Regions from separate parts of the Homo sapiens genome. Here regions 1, 2, 3, 4, 5 and 7 are each linked to region 6. The links are contacts of gene promoters, found by promoter capture Hi-C in blood cells and fetal thymus (Javierre and others, 2016). All regions are on one chromosome and are shown on one strand. The core of a region is centred on a gene start or on the middle of the fragment in contact, and the rest is flanking DNA. Distances in the headings are between cores, read along the strand shown. Region 1 has its middle 13 kb from the start of ZNF396. Region 2 overlaps ZSCAN30 (zinc finger and SCAN domain containing 30). Region 3 overlaps KIAA1328. Region 4 has its middle 20 kb from the start of MAPRE2. Region 5 overlaps LOC105372063 (a long non-coding RNA gene). Region 6 holds the start of RMP24 (ribonuclease MRP subunit p24). Region 7 has its middle 62 kb from the start of MAPRE2.

What was found. Contacts are between HindIII fragments. The CHiCAGO score rates a contact against its expected background, and 5 or more counts as called.
Region 1: a contact is called between a fragment that was not itself captured here and the fragment with the promoter of RMP24 in region 6, in 2 of 17 cell types (M2 macrophages and naive CD8 T cells). The highest score is 6.8, in M2 macrophages.
Region 2: a fragment that was not itself captured here is called in contact with the fragment with the promoter of RMP24 in region 6 in 3 of 17 cell types (non-activated CD4 T cells, total CD4 T cells and activated CD4 T cells); the score reaches 5.5 in non-activated CD4 T cells.
Region 3: a contact is called between a fragment that was not itself captured here and the fragment with the promoter of RMP24 in region 6, in 1 of 17 cell types (total CD8 T cells). The highest score is 5.6, in total CD8 T cells.
Region 4: a fragment that was not itself captured here is called in contact with the fragment with the promoter of RMP24 in region 6 in 1 of 17 cell types (total CD4 T cells); the score reaches 5.8 in total CD4 T cells.
Region 5: a fragment that was not itself captured here is called in contact with the fragment with the promoter of RMP24 in region 6 in 10 of 17 cell types (neutrophils, naive B cells, megakaryocytes and 7 more); the score reaches 8.2 in neutrophils.
Region 7: a fragment that was not itself captured here is called in contact with the fragment with the promoter of RMP24 in region 6 in 6 of 17 cell types (total CD8 T cells, fetal thymus, non-activated CD4 T cells and 3 more); the score reaches 12.9 in total CD8 T cells.

The regions. Positions count from the first base shown.
Region 1 is chr18:35,363,400-35,366,099 of GRCh38, forward strand. No RefSeq gene overlaps it. Among named protein-coding and RNA genes, the nearest start is that of ZNF396, 13 kb to the right of the region's middle. The HindIII fragment of the contact is 3,105 bases long and covers 1-2,700 here.
Region 2 is chr18:35,261,768-35,264,467 of GRCh38, forward strand. ZSCAN30 (zinc finger and SCAN domain containing 30) reads right to left here. Exons shown (of 4, transcript NM_001112734.4): 2 at 2,178-2,688; 3 at 1,746-1,890. The coding sequence starts at 2,585. Among named protein-coding and RNA genes, the nearest start is that of ZNF397, 22 kb to the left of the region's middle. The HindIII fragment of the contact is 1,802 bases long and covers 466-2,267 here.
Region 3 is chr18:36,841,431-36,844,130 of GRCh38, forward strand. All of the region lies in intron 3 of KIAA1328, which reads left to right. Among named protein-coding and RNA genes, the nearest start is that of KIAA1328, 14 kb to the left of the region's middle. The HindIII fragment of the contact is 1,054 bases long and covers 762-1,815 here.
Region 4 is chr18:35,019,586-35,022,285 of GRCh38, forward strand. It overlaps a transcript of MAPRE2 not described here. Among named protein-coding and RNA genes, the nearest start is that of MAPRE2, 20 kb to the right of the region's middle. The HindIII fragment of the contact is 667 bases long and covers 949-1,615 here.
Region 5 is chr18:35,399,078-35,401,777 of GRCh38, forward strand. The region is part of intron 2 of LOC105372063 (a long non-coding RNA gene); the gene reads right to left. Among named protein-coding and RNA genes, the nearest start is that of ZNF396, 23 kb to the left of the region's middle. The HindIII fragment of the contact is 2,979 bases long and covers 1-2,700 here.
Region 6 is chr18:35,971,321-35,974,020 of GRCh38, forward strand. It overlaps RMP24 (ribonuclease MRP subunit p24), which reads left to right and starts at 1,359. Exons shown (of 5, transcript NM_031446.5): 1 at 1,359-1,485; 2 at 1,565-1,587. The coding sequence starts at 1,409. LOC105372066 (a long non-coding RNA gene) reads right to left here and starts at 1,131. Exons shown (of 4, transcript NR_188032.1): 1 at 1,078-1,131. RefSeq lists silencers at 846-1,140, 1,080-1,229 and an enhancer at 1,149-2,041. The HindIII fragment of the contact is 7,007 bases long and covers 1-1,896 here.
Region 7 is chr18:34,977,694-34,980,393 of GRCh38, forward strand. It overlaps a transcript of MAPRE2 not described here. Among named protein-coding and RNA genes, the nearest start is that of MAPRE2, 62 kb to the right of the region's middle. RefSeq lists enhancers at 228-729, 574-1,773, 730-1,229. The HindIII fragment of the contact is 447 bases long and covers 1,070-1,516 here.

The sequences.
Region 1 (2,700 bases), core at 89-2,588, 610 kb before region 6:
GTATCCACAATAACTTCCATTCCCCCTTTCCTCTAGCCCCTGATAATCATTATTTGACTTTATGTCTTTATGAATTTGCCTATTCTAGTTACCTCAAATAAGCAGAATCACATTTGCCCTTTCATGTCTGGCTTATTTCACTTAGCATAGTGTTTTTAAGGTTCATCCTTGTAGCATGTATCAGAATTTCATTTGTTTTTATGGCTGAATAATACTCTGTTGTATGTCTATACCAAATTTTGTTTATTCATTCATATGTAGATGGTCATTTGTGTAGTTTCCACCTTTTGGTTATTTCAAATAATGCTGCTATGAACATTGGCATACAGATACCTGTTTGAGTCTCTGCTTTCAGATCTTTTGAATATATACATAGAAGTGGAATTACTGGATCATATGAGAATTTTGTTTAACTTTTTGAGGAACCACCAAACTGTTTTCCATAGCAGCTACACCATTTTACATTCCTAATGGCAATGTGCAAAGGTTCCAATTTCTCCTCATCTTTTCCAATACCTGTTTCTTTTTAAAATAATAACCATCCTAATGGTTGTGAAGTGGTATCTCATTGTGCTTTTGATTTGCATTTCCCTAATGATTAGTGACATTGGCCATCTTTTCATGTGTTTATTGGCCATTTAGGTATCCTCTTTGAGAAGTGTCTATTCATGACCTTTGCCCATTTTTGAAATTTCTGTTGTTGTTGAGTTGGAGGGGTTCTTTATATATTCTAGATAGTAATCCCTTATCAGATATATAATTTTCAAATATTTTTGTTCCACAAGTATTTGAGTGCCTATTATGGGCCACGTACTGTGCCAGATGCTTGGGAAACAATGGTAAATGAGGCAGCTTATGCTCTCAGGCAGCATGAAATAGTGGAGTCAATACAGAAATAGATATAATCTCCATTTAGCAGGGCAAAAAGTTATCACATTGCTTCTCAAATAAGCAAAGGAAAATGTAGTTTATTTTTTATAACTGATAATCTTTTTTCTTGAATCCTTGCCCCATTGGGTGGGTGGGTGGGTGGTGAAAGAGCTGAATTAAATTGCTATATTTAGTTATTATGAAATTGAATTATTCAGTCCATTTTAAGTTCAACTCCCTCTCATGGCTATTTCTCACTCTGCCCTTTTCTGCCACCTGCTTGGGAAGGTGAGGGGGGCATACATTCCCTGTGATGAGGTGGTGCTATGGATTAGGTGTTAGGTGGGCTTGCTGTTCTGATCTTCTCTGGTTTCTATTCTGGGCAGCTGGTCTTCTGTGGTGCTTGCTCACCAAACCTGCGGCAACAAATCATCTGTTTTTTTGGTTGGGCTGGGGGCCAGTGTCTCTTCCTTGGTGATTTGCCTCCACTTTGTTTCTAGGAAGAGCTATAGGTCCCCAGTAAGGTCTGGTGGGCCCTGCAGCTCTTAGCTACAGGATCCACAAGGTTACTTGCTCAACTATCCCAACTTTCCAGCTCTATAGTCAGCTATTTTCCAAGGTTCCCACTGGGCACAGAGAACTGCCGTATCTCTTTCAAGCCACATACTAGCTGATAGAAGCCATTTACCTAACACTGAATGGCTGTTTTTATGAGAGTTCAGTGTTGGAGCACTAGCAGTCTGTTCAACAATTTTCCTCCCAATGCACTCAATGGCAAGGGGGCACAGCCTTCTCCCCTTGATTCTCCCCTAACCCCCTCCAAAATTCTGCAGGGTTGGGCAACAGAGGTGAAAGGACACCCTGTGCCTGACCCTCTCATTGACTCACTCTTCCCAGGACTAGGAGAGCCTTAAAAATTTTTCTTTTTGCTACTCCATAACTTTTTCCATCCCAAGGTGTCATTTATTCTCCTCTTCCTTGCAGCCATACTTGTAATTTAATACTTTAAAAATATTTTATTTCATGAGATAAATGTAATGGTAAGGATAAGAACAGACTGATATGCAATTAACATAAGAGTGTGGTGGTGCTCTCCAACCTACTCTTTGGGTGTTAGGGAAGAAGTGGTACCTAAACTAAAACATGAAGAACACACAGGAATTAGGTAACATGTGAAAGCTAGATAGGAGTTCAAAAGGAGTACATGGAAAGGTCCAAAGGCTAGAGGACTTCTGATATTTCAAAATGGCTGAAGCATAGAGGCAATGGCAAGAGCTGAAGCTGAAGTGGTAAGCTGTGGTCAGATCACAAAGAGCCTTAACAATCTTGTTTAGCAGTTCTGACTTTATCCTAAAACAAGGGAAAGCCTATGTCTTAGACAGGGAAAGGGCATGATAAAATGTATGCCTTAGCAAGATTACTCTGGTTGAGAGATGAATGCATATGAAGAGGGGAAAGTTAAGGGCCACATAATTCCCCTCACTCAGGGACTAGCCACCATCTTGAATTTTGCCAGTGTAAGCTGGAAAAATATAGGGTAGGAGGCAGGGTCACAACAGCATATTTAAGTGTTGAAGGGATGGATGCAGAAGGAAGGCAGAGAGTGAAGAAATAGAAGAGAGGAAGAATGACTGGCAGCCAAGGCCTTTCAGAGGTGAGAATGCTGAGGCTCAGAGGGGAGAGACCCCTCTCTCATTCTCAGACGGGGGAGAGGCCCCTCTCTCATTCTCAGAAGAGGGAGAGGAAATGATGGGTAAAGTGTAAATAATTTGGCAAATTTAGTCATAGGAACTTGTAAGAGTTCTTATCTTTTTTTCCTTTAATGCAGGA
Region 2 (2,700 bases), core at 117-2,616, 710 kb before region 6:
CTTCTTGGCTTAAGAAGCTTTGGGGCTGAGACGATAGGGTTTTCTAGACATGGGATCATATTATCTGCAAATAGAGACAGCTTGATTTCCTTGAGATGAATTTTCAAAACCCGTTTTAATGTAGCACCTGCTTGGTGCAGAAGATACTTAAGAGGGCCTGCTTGGCTAATGGTAGTATCAGGGTATGATGCCTGGGGAAGGTTGGGAAGCAGTTTCCCAGAAGAATTCAGTGGATGGATGGTATGGATTCCTTTGGTGAACTGCCGAGGTCCAGGGTCTGGCCTTTGGGCTTAGGTCCTCATATACCTAATTTTATCATCATACAAAAAATAGATTTATCTCTTGGGGTAGACTCTTAATAACTAAGCCCGTGAAACTCAGTAATAAAAACAGAATGAGAATTAATGAGTAATGTAACCATCACATGGACCAGACTGAACAAATGCAATTTTCTTATTACAGCTAAGCTTCATAGGAAGTTAATAAGATTGCTTGGTGAAGACAAAATCAGAAGGGTAGTCAGATTTAACAAAAGATTAATGAGAACAAGCTGGTATACCTGATATATCTGCTGCCCATAAGGATGATTTTGCCAATAACATAATCAAAGTCCTTTCAGTTCTAATCCCTGGCATCTGTGACAGCTATCAATTTATTGCCTCAGTTTCAAATCTACGCTTCATTGCCCTGTCTGTGATACTGGACTATTTGCCAGCTGGCATGCTGTGAGCTTTATCAATAGAGGGGGTTGCAGAGGAACTGGAAGAAAGGGCTTTTCTTCCTGGTTCTGGCATGTTCTTTGTGTTTGTTTCTGTAGCACATGGGACACCCAGCAGTGCACATCCCAATGAGTTCCAAAGGCCCCATCCCTATGGGTAGCTTCCCAGCAAGTTCTGTACCAGGTCAGCTCCCCATGGGGAGCTTCTAGCACCCCAGAGTGTGGCTCCTCAGTGAGTTCTGCCAGCTCAGCACTGCAGTGGCATCTCCATCCAGTGGGCTGTGGCTGTGCCCTCTCCAACAAGGCCTGGATCTAAGACCTGGCAGGAAAGGGGAAGTTGTGGCACCCTCCTGCAAATTTGTTCTTACCTTTGATGTTCTGCCTCAGCCCTAGAGACACTCTATATCTGTTATTGCTGTATTCTTTTGAGTTTCACTTTTTGTTATAACACTTAGTAGTTAATAATTCTTAACATTAAACTTTCCCTGTTCAAATGATTATGTGGTTTCTATTACTGAAAATGTATTCATCTCCATCTTAGGGACTGTCTTGCCAATGAAGCCAAAATTAAATAACAGAATACTGAGCTTTGAATATTATGGATATTTAGCCAGGCATGGTGGTGTACAACTGTAGTCCTAGCTACTCTGGAGGCTGAGGCAGGAGGATCACTTTAACCCAGGGGTTCAAGGCTGCTGCAGTGAGCTGTGGTTGCACCACTGCACTCCAACCTGGGTGATAGAGTGAGACCCCATCTAAAAAAAAAAAAAAGAAAAAAGAAAAAGAAAAAAAATAATTATGGGTATTAGAGAATTTTACTAAAGACTTTAATTCTTAACCCAAAGTTACAAATGATACTGGAATTTCAGATTCTAGGCAGAGCCTAAGGAAGAATATTTCTAGGCAAAGAAGCCTTTCCACAATACTTAGTGATAGCCACAAGTGGCTGTCGTTAAGAAAATGAACCGTGCCACAGTTGATAGCTCTCACCTCCATCCTCAACCCCACATGGACTGGGGCTTCTCACCTCTCTCCTGGAAAGCCTGGGACTCCTGAGTCTCAGTCTTGCACTGGTTCTCTAAGGGCTGCACCGGGCTATTCAGAGACAGAGACTTCAGTGCTCCTGTGGATGTCATTTCCTGCCAGAACATTTCTTGGCCATGAGTTGTGTCCTAGGAGTAATCAAGTACCAGCACTATCATTCTGAGGATACACAAGCAGAAAACTCCTAGAGCAACAGGGCAGGAACAGAAGAATCAAAAACTCATTCAAATGATTAGAGAGAAAAAAAACAGGACCTTAAGAGCCCTAGTGACTTGAACCCAATGAGTGAATAATTAATAACCCAAAAGAAAGAAACTGTATAATTCTCTGAGAGCTGAGTCAATGCCCCAGTCATAATTATGGCTTCCCCATTAACTTACAATAGATCAAACAAACAAAAATGTTTACTTCTTACCTGTTGCCTTGGCTCCTCCAGTTCTTTTTCCAGCTCCTCCAGCATAGTCACAGCTTCCTCTCCATTCTCTGGCCGATGCTCTCGCAGCCAAGCTTGCAGCTCCTCAGGAAGGATGGCCAGGAACTGCTCCAACATCAGCAGCTCCAGGATCTGCTCCTTGGAGTGCACCTCCGGCCTCAACCACTGACAGCAAAGCTCTCGCAGCCGGCTCAGAGCCTCCCGAGGGCCAGTGGAGTCAGAGTAACTAAACTGCCTGAACTTCTGCCGGAATACCTCTTGGCTCCAGGGGTTTTCCTGAAGGCCAAAGTCCTGGTCCAAAACATAATTTTCTTCTTCAACCTTGACAACTAGAAGTCCTTCCTGTTCTTCTGGAGCATGGTAGGCCAAGACTGTGGCCTCTCCTGACATTCTGGGCAGAGACAGTCTGAAAAGGCTGCCCAGGTGAGGCAGGGAGGAGATGGAGATTTGCGTCTGAGAGATTCCTTCTGAATTCCAACTCCCCAGGACGCTCCTGAGGGTGGAC
Region 3 (2,700 bases), core at 39-2,538, 870 kb after region 6:
CTACTGGGAAGAGGATTCTTTTCTTCTTTGAATTGCAATGATACCATTGTTGTAAGTCAAGTGACTGTAGATATGTGGCCTTTCCTCATCATGTTTTCTTCTTTGGTAATTCGTATCCTGAACTTTATAATTCTTTTGTTTTTCCATATCGGGGTTCGCCGACTTTTTCTATAAATTGGACAGGTAGTAAATACTTTAACTTTTGCAGGCTGTAACATCTGTCTCAACAACTCAACTCTGCCACAGTAGCATTAAAAGAGCCATAAGCAATATGCAAATGAATGAGCACGTTTTAATAAACCTTTGTTTACAAAAACAGCCAGTGGGCCAGATTCGGCTTGCAGCCATGGTTTACCAAGCCCTGTCCTACAGTGTAAATACATTTTTTTTGAAACAGTATTTCATATATATTTGGAACTTTATATAAATGAGCTCATATCCATTTGTATTGTGTGATTTGCTTTTTATTTCATATTATGTTTATGAGATTTCTTGTTTTTTTTTCCCTCTATGGCTCTTCCAATGTTACGTGAGATTTCTTTATGTTGTATGTAGTTATATTTCATTTCTTTTCACCGTCTCGGGGTTTAGTCAGTTATTTTAACTTAGAATATTTAAAAGAAAAATTATTGAATAGTGCGAGAACCAAAAAGGCAAAAAGGGAACATTAAAGTATCATGAAAGTAGTAACTATAAGAAACAACCACAATCTCTAGAACTGGATGAGAGGGCAGAATAAGTCGGAATTATTGAAACTTAGAAGCTTAGAGGAGGGGCCCCTTAAAGCTGCAACTTGGACCTCTGGTGATGGGACACCAACCCGGCTGGTACTGCCATTTCTGAGGAGGCCTGATAAAGGCTGGTTCTGTAAGGGCTGGAAAAAATTGCAAACTGGAATCAGCAGTACTTGCCAGGGTAAGGAACTCAGGGGTGACACTGTCAGTAACAGGAAGGAAGTAGCCTTCCTTCTTTCTTCCTGGTCTTCATCTAGTTCTTTGTGTTGGCAGAGTTCAACAGAGTGCCAGGTGGCGAAGGAGAAATGGTGTTTCCAGAGTCTTAGACTTAGCATCTCAAAGCAGAGGGTGGAAGGGTAGTTTTGAGGGGGAAAGTTAGTATCATAGCTACCAGTACCTCTAGAATTTCATTGTATCAATATGCCAGCCACAGTTTTACTATTCTGTAGTTAATAGACATTTGCCTTTTCAGATTTTTGCTGTTGTTAACACAATGCCACTAATTATTTATTTTTTTTTTTTTGCCTAGTTACAAAGATTTCTCTTTTGTTCTTTTACTCAGCACATCACTAATGAAATGTCTTTTCATGGGTTATCAGCAACTTCCTCCATTGCCAAATCCATTGCCTTCTTCCCCCAGTCTATTTGTCTTTTTTAATCATTAGCACTGTTGAACCCACACTATTCTTGAAACTTTTTCTTTCTTGTTTTCTCCTACAATGTTATATGCTTCTGATTCTCCACTTGTCCTTTCAAATGCCACTTTAAATTAAACTAAAATCCAATTACTTAAATTGAAATTAAAATCAAATGCCAATTTTCCTGGACTTGTAGATGATTTTTAAAATACTAATATTTTTTCTTAATTTTAAATACATAATTATTAAAGAAAAATTTAAAACATAGAAAAGTATAAAGAATAATAAAAAATCTTAACATTATCCATAATACCATACACTGACTTTTAAATCTTTATGATTTTCTCTAGTTTGAAAGCTAGACCTACCTTTCCAGCTTCCTGCCTAGACGTTTGCACATGAATGGTTTGCTGGCATCTTACATTGAGCATTTCTAAAACCAAAGCTTATTTTATTATCATCTTCTTTTCTCCATTTTTTTCCCTACTCTCTTTCCCACCTTCGGCTATTACTATTTCCAGAATTCACTTTAGGTGTTTTCAGTTATTCTTGGCTACCCGAGGTAATTGGACTAACTTAACTTTGGTGGTTGCGCAAATGCCAAGGATTACAGCTCCTTCCTTTTACATGTTACCTACGATTCCTTCGTGACTCCCTGAGTTTATGTCTTTAAGGACCCCTCCTAATGATGCTGAGGTGCTGGGGAAAAGTTTTTGTAGCACAAAAGATTAGAATAATATGGTGTTTAAAGAGCACAGACTCTGGAACCTGTGTTTAAGTCTTGATTCTGCTATTTAATTGCTATAATCCTGGATATGTACCCTTAAAGTAGAATAGGAATAGTAACTATTAATACTTAATAGCGTTGTTGTGCAAATAAAATGGAATAGTAAGTACAAAGTGCTTACAATATTCCTGGCATGAAGTGAGCACTAGATGTAATTGTTAGCTATTGCTATTATTACTCTTTGGTTTAGTACTCTTTGGGATGAACCTTAGGATATTTTGAATGCTTAGTAACTGGTGCCTCTGCTGCTAATCTTCGTATACCCTTAAGCAGCGTGGGGACTATGGTGTAATAACAGTTCTCAGTATCTTCTGTTGAGTATTTGTTTCTATGACATTCACAAAGGGAAAGTTGTTTTCCTAATAAACCCCAGTATTTAAGCAGGGGATATCTGCTTTTACTTTCTGTTTGCTTCTCTGTGTAAATCTCATGAAGTGTCCTAGTGGACAGTCAGTTCCTTAGCCTGTTTTTAGTTCACAGTAGGTTTAAATTGAAACAGGTAGATAGTGTTGCACCAGAGAAAAGATATCTAAGAAATTTC
Region 4 (2,700 bases), core at 32-2,531, 950 kb before region 6:
ATGTCATAAGCAGTTTTCCATGCTACAGTACATATTCATGATTGTAGACATGTTTTAATGTGTGTCAAATAGTCTGTAGAGTTGACCATTATTTATCCAACTTGCCATTGTTTGCCATATGGAGTCTGTTTCAAAGTTAACTTTGGTGTGCCTGAAACTTATAGATCATAACTGGTTAAATAATACTCTGAGTGGCAATCTCATACCTATGTGTCCCCATATCCCTGTGAATATAACATGTTTTCTATTACAGCGTGGAATTCCTGATTGGATATTACCTCAGATTTTTAAAACCTTTTTCACATGTATAATTTTTGCTTTCCAAATAATAATATTCTTAAGAACAATGGATGAGGCATTCTAGTTTACTTATCTCCCCAGACATTAGATACTTAATACATACTTCTGAGTTCTGTAAAATCAGCTCGGCCTCAGGTTGCCTGGCTACTTGTACTGTGGATGACACAGATTTTCAGCACCCCTTACCTCAAATATCATTCTGCTTAAAATGTGTGCATGATGTGTTTGTCTCTGTTCTAAAATTAGCTGTGCTTCAGTCTTCAAGAAAGCAATTCAGATGAATCACAGATTATCAGGATAACATCAAACTACAGAAGGAAAAATGAATAATACAGGTCAAGATAAGCCCCAGAGTGCCTCCCTAAAGAACTCGATTCTAGGCCATGAGGATATTTTATTCTCCAGCTGGACTCTAAATCCTACTTTGGATGCTGATGTGTTATTCTGTTATGATTTTTCAAGGCAATGACTATGCTTTATATTTGGTTGGTAGTTTCTCTCATGGAATTCTTTAACTTTATTTTCGCCCTTGGTGAGTGCCATGTTCAAACCTGTGTCAGGTAATGCCATTCATGCAACATTACTTCGGTTTATAAGCTGGCCTGAACCATTTGCACCCTCTTTTAGTGAGTGCTTAGCTTAGAGAAAAGCTTTCCTTGGCTTGTCAAAAAAAAAAAAAATGTGCAGTGAGTGCTTAGAACATTTGTATACTGATATTATTGCCTCTGACCAGAAGCAACCTATTTCTGTAAAGGTGTCTTCGAATAAGACTATCTAACCACTCTTGCCTCCTACTCAAGAAAACGTATCCCCTCAATTATAAAATAAAAATTTCCTGGCTCGAGAACATTACTTTATTTAAAAAGCTGTGTCCATAAATTTGATATTTTCGTTGTATAGTGAGACATAAAAACATGAAGCATTTGCTTTTAAATTTTCATTTAGGTAAAATGATTTTAGATTATATACTAAAAATGGCAGAGAAGAAAATTCTGGTTGGAAAAATTGCCATTGCTGGCACAAGAAACAGAATTATTTGTCTGGATGGAACTCAATACATATTTTTAACTGATACAGAATTAGGGGTATCCTGGAATGTTCAAAAAGACTTCAGAAGATGTGGTCTTTGAGCCGAGCCTGCCTGTGTAAAATGGTAGATGAAAGGAAAAAGGACATTCCAGGCGAGAAATGAAATGTAGGCCATCTCAAGGGGGCAGAGAGAACCTGGTACTTTAGTGTGAATAATGGAGGATTAAGGAAGAAAGATAAGCTAGGGTCAAACTGTGCAGAGTCCCAAATACCAGACCATTACTTAAGCTTTATATTTTAGACAATGAGGGAAATGTTGAACATGATGCAAGTATATTCTAGAAAAATTCGTGAGTTTTAAGATGACAGTCTAAATACAGTTTTGCTCCCATCTTCCCAGCTCTTCAACTGAAATAACAAAATTTAAAAAGGAGAGCAAATCCATGACACTTACAGAAACATGAATGGGGACCAGAAATGGACAAAGTTCTGGAAGATGGAAAGGGCATAGGATTATATTGCCAGCTAAATAAGAGCAAAAATTGAAAAAGAAATAAAATAGCTAATTTAGATGAAGTAATTCAGAGAATAGAAGAAAACGTTTAATAAATATCCTTAAACAGACAAAAAGTATTGCATCCCTTAAACTTCACGGCCCCACTCCTCCCAGAAAAAAAGAGTTGCTATGAATAAGAGGTAATCAGAAAGTGCAAGAGCTTTGGCGAATTAAAAATATAATTAAATCAAAAATCAATTGGACTTAGTGTGGCTGAGAGTATCACAGGGTATAAAGCAAAAGATGAAAAGACAGAAAATACTAGAAAAGTATTAGAGAAATAGAAGAATGATCTAAATGGCCTGGCATTCTTTATGAAGAGTTTCAAGAAGACATTGAAGACAAAGAAATAAAGGCATAAAGATTCAGATTAAAAGAGGCTACTGAATGTTGACCACGATGAATTTAAAAAACCCAAACCTAGGTCCACCCTCATGAAATTTCAGAATAAAAGAGATGTTAGAGCTTGAGGGTCAGAGAGAAGAGTGATTACATACAGAAGAGTGATCACCTGAATGTTATAGACATCAATATGCAATTCTGAAGCCTCAGAAGCAGTGGAACCATGCTTTCAAAGTTCTGAGGGAAGTGATTTTGGACATTTCAACTATCAATAAAATATAAAAACAAATAGATAACTTCTAACATGAAAAGGTTTGAAAACTTTACGTCTCTGTATCTCTCAAAAAATAATTTCTAGATGAACTCCAGCAAAGTAAAAGAGAAAAAATAAAGAATAACATAACATCTAAAAATCTATGGAACTAATGAAAGAATCCAATTACAAGAAGTATAAGAAATACCAGGATGCTAGC
Region 5 (2,700 bases), core at 116-2,615, 570 kb before region 6:
AGCCTCATTTGTTGCTAGGATGAATGGCCAAGAGATCCAGTTATTAGCAATGAGAACAAAGGAAAAAATGACCTGGAAAGCATTTGGGAAAGACTTTGCTCCTGATAAAAGGAAAGCCCTTTCCCCCTTGCCATTTTCTTCCTGACTTCAATGCAGTTGTGTAAGAAAGTGATGCTTGAAGCTGCACGGTTTGGAAATCATGAGATAATAAAGCAAAAAATGAAATGCAAGCACATTGAGAATGGCAGGTGTGGTAGACAGACTAATGTTCTCCAAAGATGGCCATGTTCTATCCCTGAAACCTGTGACTATGTTATGTTGCCTGGCATGGGGGAATTAAGATTGCAGATGGAATTAAGGTTGCTAATTAACTAACTTTAAAAATAAGAAATTATCTTGGATAATCCTGGTGGGTCCAGTGTAAGCACAGGGTCTTTAAATGGAAGAGGGAGGCAGAAGAAGAGGTTGGAGTCAGAGAAACGAATGTGCTACATTGCTGGACGTGAAGGTGGAAGAAGGGGCCATGAGCCATGGAATGTAGGCGATCTCTAGAAGCTGGAAAAGACAAGGAAACAGATTCTCTCATGTAGCCTCTAGAAGGCTCCAAGGCTGTTGGCACAGCCCTGACAACACCTTTGTTTTAGCCAAGTTAGACCATTTTACACTTCTAACTTCTAGAACTGTAAAACAATAAATTCATGCTGTTTTAAGTCACCACGTTTGTGGTAATTTGTAACAGCAGCAGTAGGAAATGAATACAGCCACTCAAGGGCAAAACACCTCCCAGCCCCCCATGCAGCAAGGTGTGACCATGTGTGTAAGTAACTTCCCACTCATATCCTGAAAAGAAAGCTCCTTGCTCTCAGCTTACATTTTATTTCTATAAAGTAGAAAATGGTCATGCAAATGATTGGCCTATTTCTACCTGGTAGATGTGAACAACCCTGTAGGGGTTGGCTGAAGCCACAGATAGAATAACCTGGATCCCTGAATAATAGTAAGTTGCAGAGACACATACACTCCTTGTTCACCCACCTACTGAGACTTTCACACCAAGGGGAAATAAACTCTCTGTCTTGTTTAAGTCACTGTTATTTAGCATGTACAGAAGTCTTGTAGCTAATATCCTGTATTTCTCTTGGAAACATAGAATTGAGCAGACAAAAAACTCAGCAAAAATTTAGAAGATTTGAACAATTCAATTAATAAACTGGATTTCTATACAGAATATAGAATATATATTTAATATATACAGAATATACAGAATACTGCACCCAACAACTGCTGAATACATTTTCTTTTCAAGGACGCATGGAATCTTCACCAAAACTGACCATATGCTGGGCTCTAAAGTAAGTCTCAACAAATCTCACAGGGTTGAAAATCATACACAATTTTCACAGGATTAAAATTATACAGAATGTTTGCTTACCACAATGCAATTAAGCTAGAAATTAATTACAAAATTACAAAAAGACAACTTTAAAAATATTCTTATGTTTGGAGATTATAAAATATATTTCTAAATAATCCATGTGTCCAAAAATAATTTACAATGAATATTATAAAACATTTTAAATTAAATGGTGATATCTTGAATCACCAAGAGTAGATTTTAAATGTTCTCACCACAGTGATAAGTATGTAAGGTAATGAGTATGTTAATTAGCTTGATTTAGCCATTCTACAATGTATACATATTTCAAAACATCACGTGGTACATGATGAATATATCCAATTTATTTGTCAATTTAAAGTAATTTAAATATAAATTAAAAATACTAAAATGAATAACAATTAACTCCCAATTAAAATAAGTAAATGGTAGTAAAATACTACACATTAAAATGTAAGATGTAGCTAAGGCAGTACTGAAAAGAAAACTTGTAATCTTTAGTGCATAAAAGGTGAAAATTAACAAAGAAAGCATTCATTTCAAAAGGTTAGAAAAGGCACAATAGGCTGGGTGCCGTGGCTCACGCCTGTAATCCCAGCACTTTGGGAGGCCGAGGTGGGCGGATCACGAGGTCAGGAGATCGAGACCATCCTGGCTAACATGGTGAAACCCCGTCTCTACTAAAAATACAAAAAATTAGCGGGGCGTGGTGGTGGGCGCCTGTAGTCCTAGCTACTCGGGAGGCTGAGGCAGGAGAATGGCGTGAACCCGGGAGGCGGAGCTTGCAGTGAGCCGAGATGGCGTCACTGCACTCCAGCCTGGGCGACAGAGCCAGACTCCGTCTCAAAAAAAAAAAAAAGAAAAAGAACAATAAAATATAGCAAAATACAGTAGAAGAAAGAACATATTAGAAATAAAATAAAAACAATAAAAAAAGAAAACATACAATAAAATGATAAATACAATAAAAATGTATTACATTTTTATTGTAATACAATACATAATGTATATGTGTATGTAATACAATACATAATGTAATGTGTATGTAATACAATACATACAATAAAAATGATAACAAAGCTATAGTTCTTTCAAAGACATCCAATCAATAAACCACTGGTGAGACCCTTCAAGAAAAAAAGAGAAGACACAATTAATAAGAGTGACTGTAATTTATGTCTACACCAGGGCATGTTTACACTGAGAAAGGCCACTGAATGTAATTATATACTTTTTTGAAACCTTTATTAATTAACAAATTAATTTTATTATACCAGTGAACCTATAAAATACTTTTATTCAAA
Region 6 (2,700 bases), core at 109-2,608:
ATAAATAAATAAAGCAGGCTAAATAAGGGTCCACTATCCAGAACATACACATTAAAAGAACCTTACAACTTATCAACAAAAAGACAACTCCAATAAAAAATGAGCAAAGAACTTAAACAGCCAAAGATACATAAATTGCCAACAAGCACATGAAAAGCTGCTCAAAAGCATCAGTAGTCAGGGAAATGTTAATCAAAACCACAATGAGATGCTACATCATACTCACTAGGAAGGCTAGATTTAAAAAAAAAAGAAAAAGAAAAGCAAATGTTGGTGAGGATACGGAGAAACTGGAACCCTCATTAAGCACAGAATTACTACATAACCCAGCAGATCTACTCTTAGGTATTATACCCCGAAGAACAGAAAAAAGGCACTCAAACAAATGCATGTACACACATGTTCACAGCGGCATTCATTCATAACAGCCAAAAAGTAGAAACAATTCAAACGTTCAACTGATGAATGGATAAACCATTGTGATACCGCCATACAATGGAATATTATTCAGCCATAACAACGAATGAAGTACTGATACGTGCTGCAAGGTGGATGAACCTGATACATTATGCTAGGTGAAGGAAGCCAGACACAAAAGGTCGTGTGTATGATTCCATTTACATGAAATGCCCAGAATAGGTAAATCCATAGAGACAGAAAGCGGACTGGTGGTTGCCAAGGCCTGGGAGGGAGAGGAGGATTGGCCGTAAGTGCTTCATGGAGTTGGCTGTCCTTCGGCGAAATATTTTGGAAATAGCAGAATGGTGCTTGCACAACATTGTAAATTTACTAAACGCCACTGAATTGTTCACCTTAAAATGGTCAATATTACGTTATGTGAATTTCACTTTAATTACAAAAAGAGAAACGCTAGCGTTTACGCAGGCGGAGGGCAGGCTGGACTGGGGACGCTCCTCCCGGCCGCCTCGTTGCTGGCAGCGCTTCCGCCCGCCGGCGCACCAGTCAGTACCGCGCCCGGCGAATGTGGAGGGCGAAGCTGCGGCAGGGCAATCACAAAAGGGCTGTCAGAGAGGAGGCGAGGCGGGAGGAAGATGGAGAGGCGGGTGGGAGCCTCACCTTTGGACTCTATCGCCACAGCCCGGTCTAGCCGCTACGCCCGAGCTCAAGTCTGACTCGAAACTCCGCTGGGTGCCTGAGAGGACCCGGCAGGCCAAGGGGTGGAACTGAGGGGGCGGGGACGCGGCGGGCGGGTGGGGCCGCCTCCCGGCTGGGCACGCCTCCAAGCCAGACTGGACGCGAAGGAAACCGGAACCTGTCTGCCTACGGTGCCTGTTTCCGGAAGCAGCTTGAGTCCGGACACCAACGACGGGGACGCTGGGAAGCCGACTTCCGGCGCCCTATTTTCTCACCTGGTTCCCGCGGCGAGCCAGCGGCAGCGGCGGCGGCGATGAGACAGAAGCACTACCTTGAGGCTGCAGCGCGGGGACTGCACGACAGCTGCCCGGGCCAAGCCCGCTACCTCCTGTAAGAGGACTGGAGGGGAAGCGGGAGGCGAGCGGGTAGGTGTTCCTTTGCTCCTCACAAGTCTCTTTCTCTTTTACAGCTGGGCCTACACTTCGTCGCACGGTAAGAAGAACGCCTGTCTCTTGTGCTTTGGGCTCTTGTCGCCCCGCTTTCCTCTGTTCCGCACAACGCTCAAATAAGGCCGATGGACTCACTTCCCTCCATAAAAACAACAACAACAAAGCCCGCATGTGTCTCGGTTTCGTGAAAAATCCAAATTCTTTAATGTGCCTTGTCTTGCTTTGTTAGCGGCATTTGACACATTGATCAGTCTTGAAATAGTTTCCTCCCTTGGCTTCTAGGTCATTACGTAGTTCACCTCTTCATTTATTACTTCTCGATTTGCTTTGCTGGTTCCTCCTAATCTCCCCAAGCTTTAAGTATTGTCGTGGCCCAGTACTCAGCCCTTGGACCTCTTTTCTAGGCACACTCGCTTCCTTGGTGACAGTTTTTCATCCAATCTCATGGCTTTTAAATACCATATACTGAGGACTTACAAATGTATATACTCAGCGCAGACCTCTCCTCTGAATTCTAGACTCATATATCCGAATGTCTTCTTGACAAATTCTTTTCAATGTCTAGTAATTCAAACTTAGCTAATATGTCCAAAACCTGAGCTTTAACCCCCAACAAGATCCTCCAGTTTTTCTCATTTCAGTAAATAATTCCATTCTTCCCTTACAGTTATTGAGCCCAAAAACCTTGGAGCTATTCTTGACTCCCTAACTCTCTCTCCTCCCCCAGGCCAGTATGCGAGCAAATCCTGTTGGCTTTAAAATGTAGCCAAAATCAGCCAGGAGCGGTGGCTCACCCCTGTAATCCCAGCACTTTGAGATGCAGAGGCGGGCGGATCATTTGAGGCCAGGAGTTCGAGACCAACCTGGCCAACATGGCGAAACGCTGTCTCTACTAAAAATACAAAAAAATTACCTGGCATGGTGGTGCACGCCTGTAATCCCAGCTACTCGAGAGGGTGAGGCATGAGAATCTCTTGAACCCGGGAGGTGGAGGTTGCAGTGAGCGGAGATGGCGCCATTGCACTCCACTCCTCACCACATCCATTGCTACTACCCTGCTCCAGGCCATCACCAGCTCTCTCCTGGATTAATAAAAGTGAAAGTCCTTTAAAAGGATTGTAAGGCCCTGTGTCATAGACCTGCATACCTCTCTGAC
Region 7 (2,700 bases), core at 43-2,542, 990 kb before region 6:
GCCGGGTGGGTGCAAAAGGAAGCGGGTTGTTATTCTGCGCCCAAGCATCTCTTCTGCAGGGAGCCCCGGGAGCGCAGGGCGAGGGCTACTCAGCGACTTCGCACTCGGCTTAGTGGGAAATTCTTCGGTCTACCCTTAGAAGGGCTATGCGGAAGCCAGAAATCCCACAAAGAGCCAGGAGAGGGGTGGACGCGGAAAGCGGTCCCCTCTGAACCTGGGGCGCTCGATAAAGCTGATTTTCAGACCCCAAAAGGGCTAGTGGGTTTGGTCACTCCTCCAGTGACTTCGTCAATACAGTGCCAAGGGCAGAGCCGTAACCTCGGAGAAGGGGCGCTGCAGCCATTTGATCAGGAGAAGCCTTTGTCTTAACCCCCAAGCCCCTCCTGCTAGTCCTCGCTGGGTCAGTAGCGCTGGGAGTAATTAATATTACGAACATTAGCCTTTCCTTCACCTCCGCACCAGCCAACACTGCTGTCCCCTCCCTGATTGTCTTCTCTATCACTTGTTCACATCTCCTTTTCCAAAAAAAGAAGAACAAAAGGAAAATAGTGTAGACCCGCTAGGCAGGAAGAGGTCACTAAAAATACTATCGTGCTGTCAATGTAGAATGAAGGGTTAAGCGCTCAAACCCGCGCCCGCGCGCACCGAAACGGAAGAACTTCCTTGATTAGCATAGTATCGACCCTGGGGCCGCGCTGCGAGGCGGAGGTTCGGTCCCAGCTGGGGTGAAGTGTGCAGACCGGTTGCGATTGTGGTCAGACGCAGCACCTACTTCTAATCTGAGGACCCGCGATTTACACTTTTGCTGAATAGGACACTGTGGAATGAAACAGAACAGAGATCAAAAGGTAATCTGAAGAATGGCAACATTTCCCCTGCTTCTCCTGAACGCTAAATTTGGCCAAATTTTTATCAAGCAAAAAGGGGTATGGCTCTTGGTTAGCCAGTGTCCCCTCTGGAAATGAAATGCTTCCTTACTTTGCTTTCGTTCTTTTCTGCCAAACTGATTAAAGACATCAGTTAGGGGTAAGATAAGAGGTCCGGGAGCTCACCGAGTGATTGGTAGATAAGCTTAACTGGTAAATTTTCCTTGCGTGGGTAGAGCTATGCTTCTTCAAAGCACTGGTTCTCAAATTTTGCTGCATAGTGGAATCATCTGGGGAGCTTTGAGAACTCCTGATGTCCTGATCACATCCCAAACTATTTAAATCAGGTTGTTTGGGAGTGAGAAATAGGCACAGTATTTAAAAGCAAAAACAACTCCTGGTAACTTCATTGTGCAGCCAAGTTGGGGAAACTCTACAGCAAAGGAAGAGTTCAGCGGCCAGCAGCAGCAGGCATTGCAAGACAAGATGCCACTTTAACTACTTGGGTGGGTGAGAGAAAAGACGCTGAAACTGGAGTGCCGATGACTAACACCCTGGGGCGGGGAACTGTCATCTAGCAGCCTAGCTGGTGGTGACACCTACCACAACATTTTTCCCTTCCCTGGCTAGGGTCTGATTGGAAAAATCGAAGCTTACTTCAATGCCTGGTTTCTGCACTGTTGTTAAGGGAGACGGATAGAAACTTCCATTCCTGTGATGACTCATGTGTAGCAGTCAGTAGGAAAACCCAGCAGAAACATACTCCAGCAGCCTGGTGAGTCAGCAGGCTGCACAGCGATCCCAGTGAATAGGAAGTAATTACAGCGAGTAGTTTGTTGACACGCACAAACTGCACTCCTTTGAAAGCACATTTAATATCTGATCAGGATCTACTTGCTTGCAGGAGCCACTCCCTTTGTAGCACACCATTCTGCCTGTTTCATATAATGCTCTCTTCTGTTAGAAGGGGAAACACAAAGCTAACTAGACATCCTGTAACTTTCTTGGTGGGAAGCATGTAAAAAAAAAACTGTTGGGAAAGTGTAAACTGGTTTGGGTTATTTCAGTTATGTGAAGCAGAAAGGATGAATATGTAACACATAAATTTTGCATACAAAAAAGTCAAATACTACTTGATTATACATCCAGGAGTGAATTAAATGATCTATTTAAATAGAAATGGTTACACTTAACATTTTATATAAAACCTCATGTTGGCTATTAACCAAAGGTTTCTTGCCTTTAAAACTGTCATCCCAAAAGGATTACTCCAGGATAACCTGTTATCTCTGGTTCTCTGTATCTTTAACAGGTTATCTTAGAGTCATCAAAAAACAAACTTTCTTTTTCTTCTTTCAGTTTTAATACCTCTTCACTATTTTTAATATCACTATCACTCTCTGCACTGTTGTCTAAATGCTTTCTTCCCCTTCCTCAATTTCTTTTCTTTTCTTTTTCTTTTTCTTTTTTTCTTTTTTTTTTTTTTTTTTTTTTTGAGACAGAGTCTCACTCTGTTGCCCAGGCTGGCACGATTTCGGCTCACTGCAACCTCCGCCTCCAAGTTCAAGCGATTCTCCTGCCTCAGCCTCCTGAGTAGCTGGGATTACAGGCACACATCATCATGCCCAGCTAATTTTTGTATTTTTATAGAGATGGGGTTTCACCATGTTGGCCAGGCCGGTCTTGAACTCCTGACCTGAGGTGATCCACCCGCCTCGGCCTCCCAAACTGCTGGGATTACAGGAGTGAGCCACCACACCAGCCCTCAATTTCTTTAAGGAGGAAAAACAGTGTCTTGCACACAGCAAGCACTCAATATTTTTGGCCGTTGAAC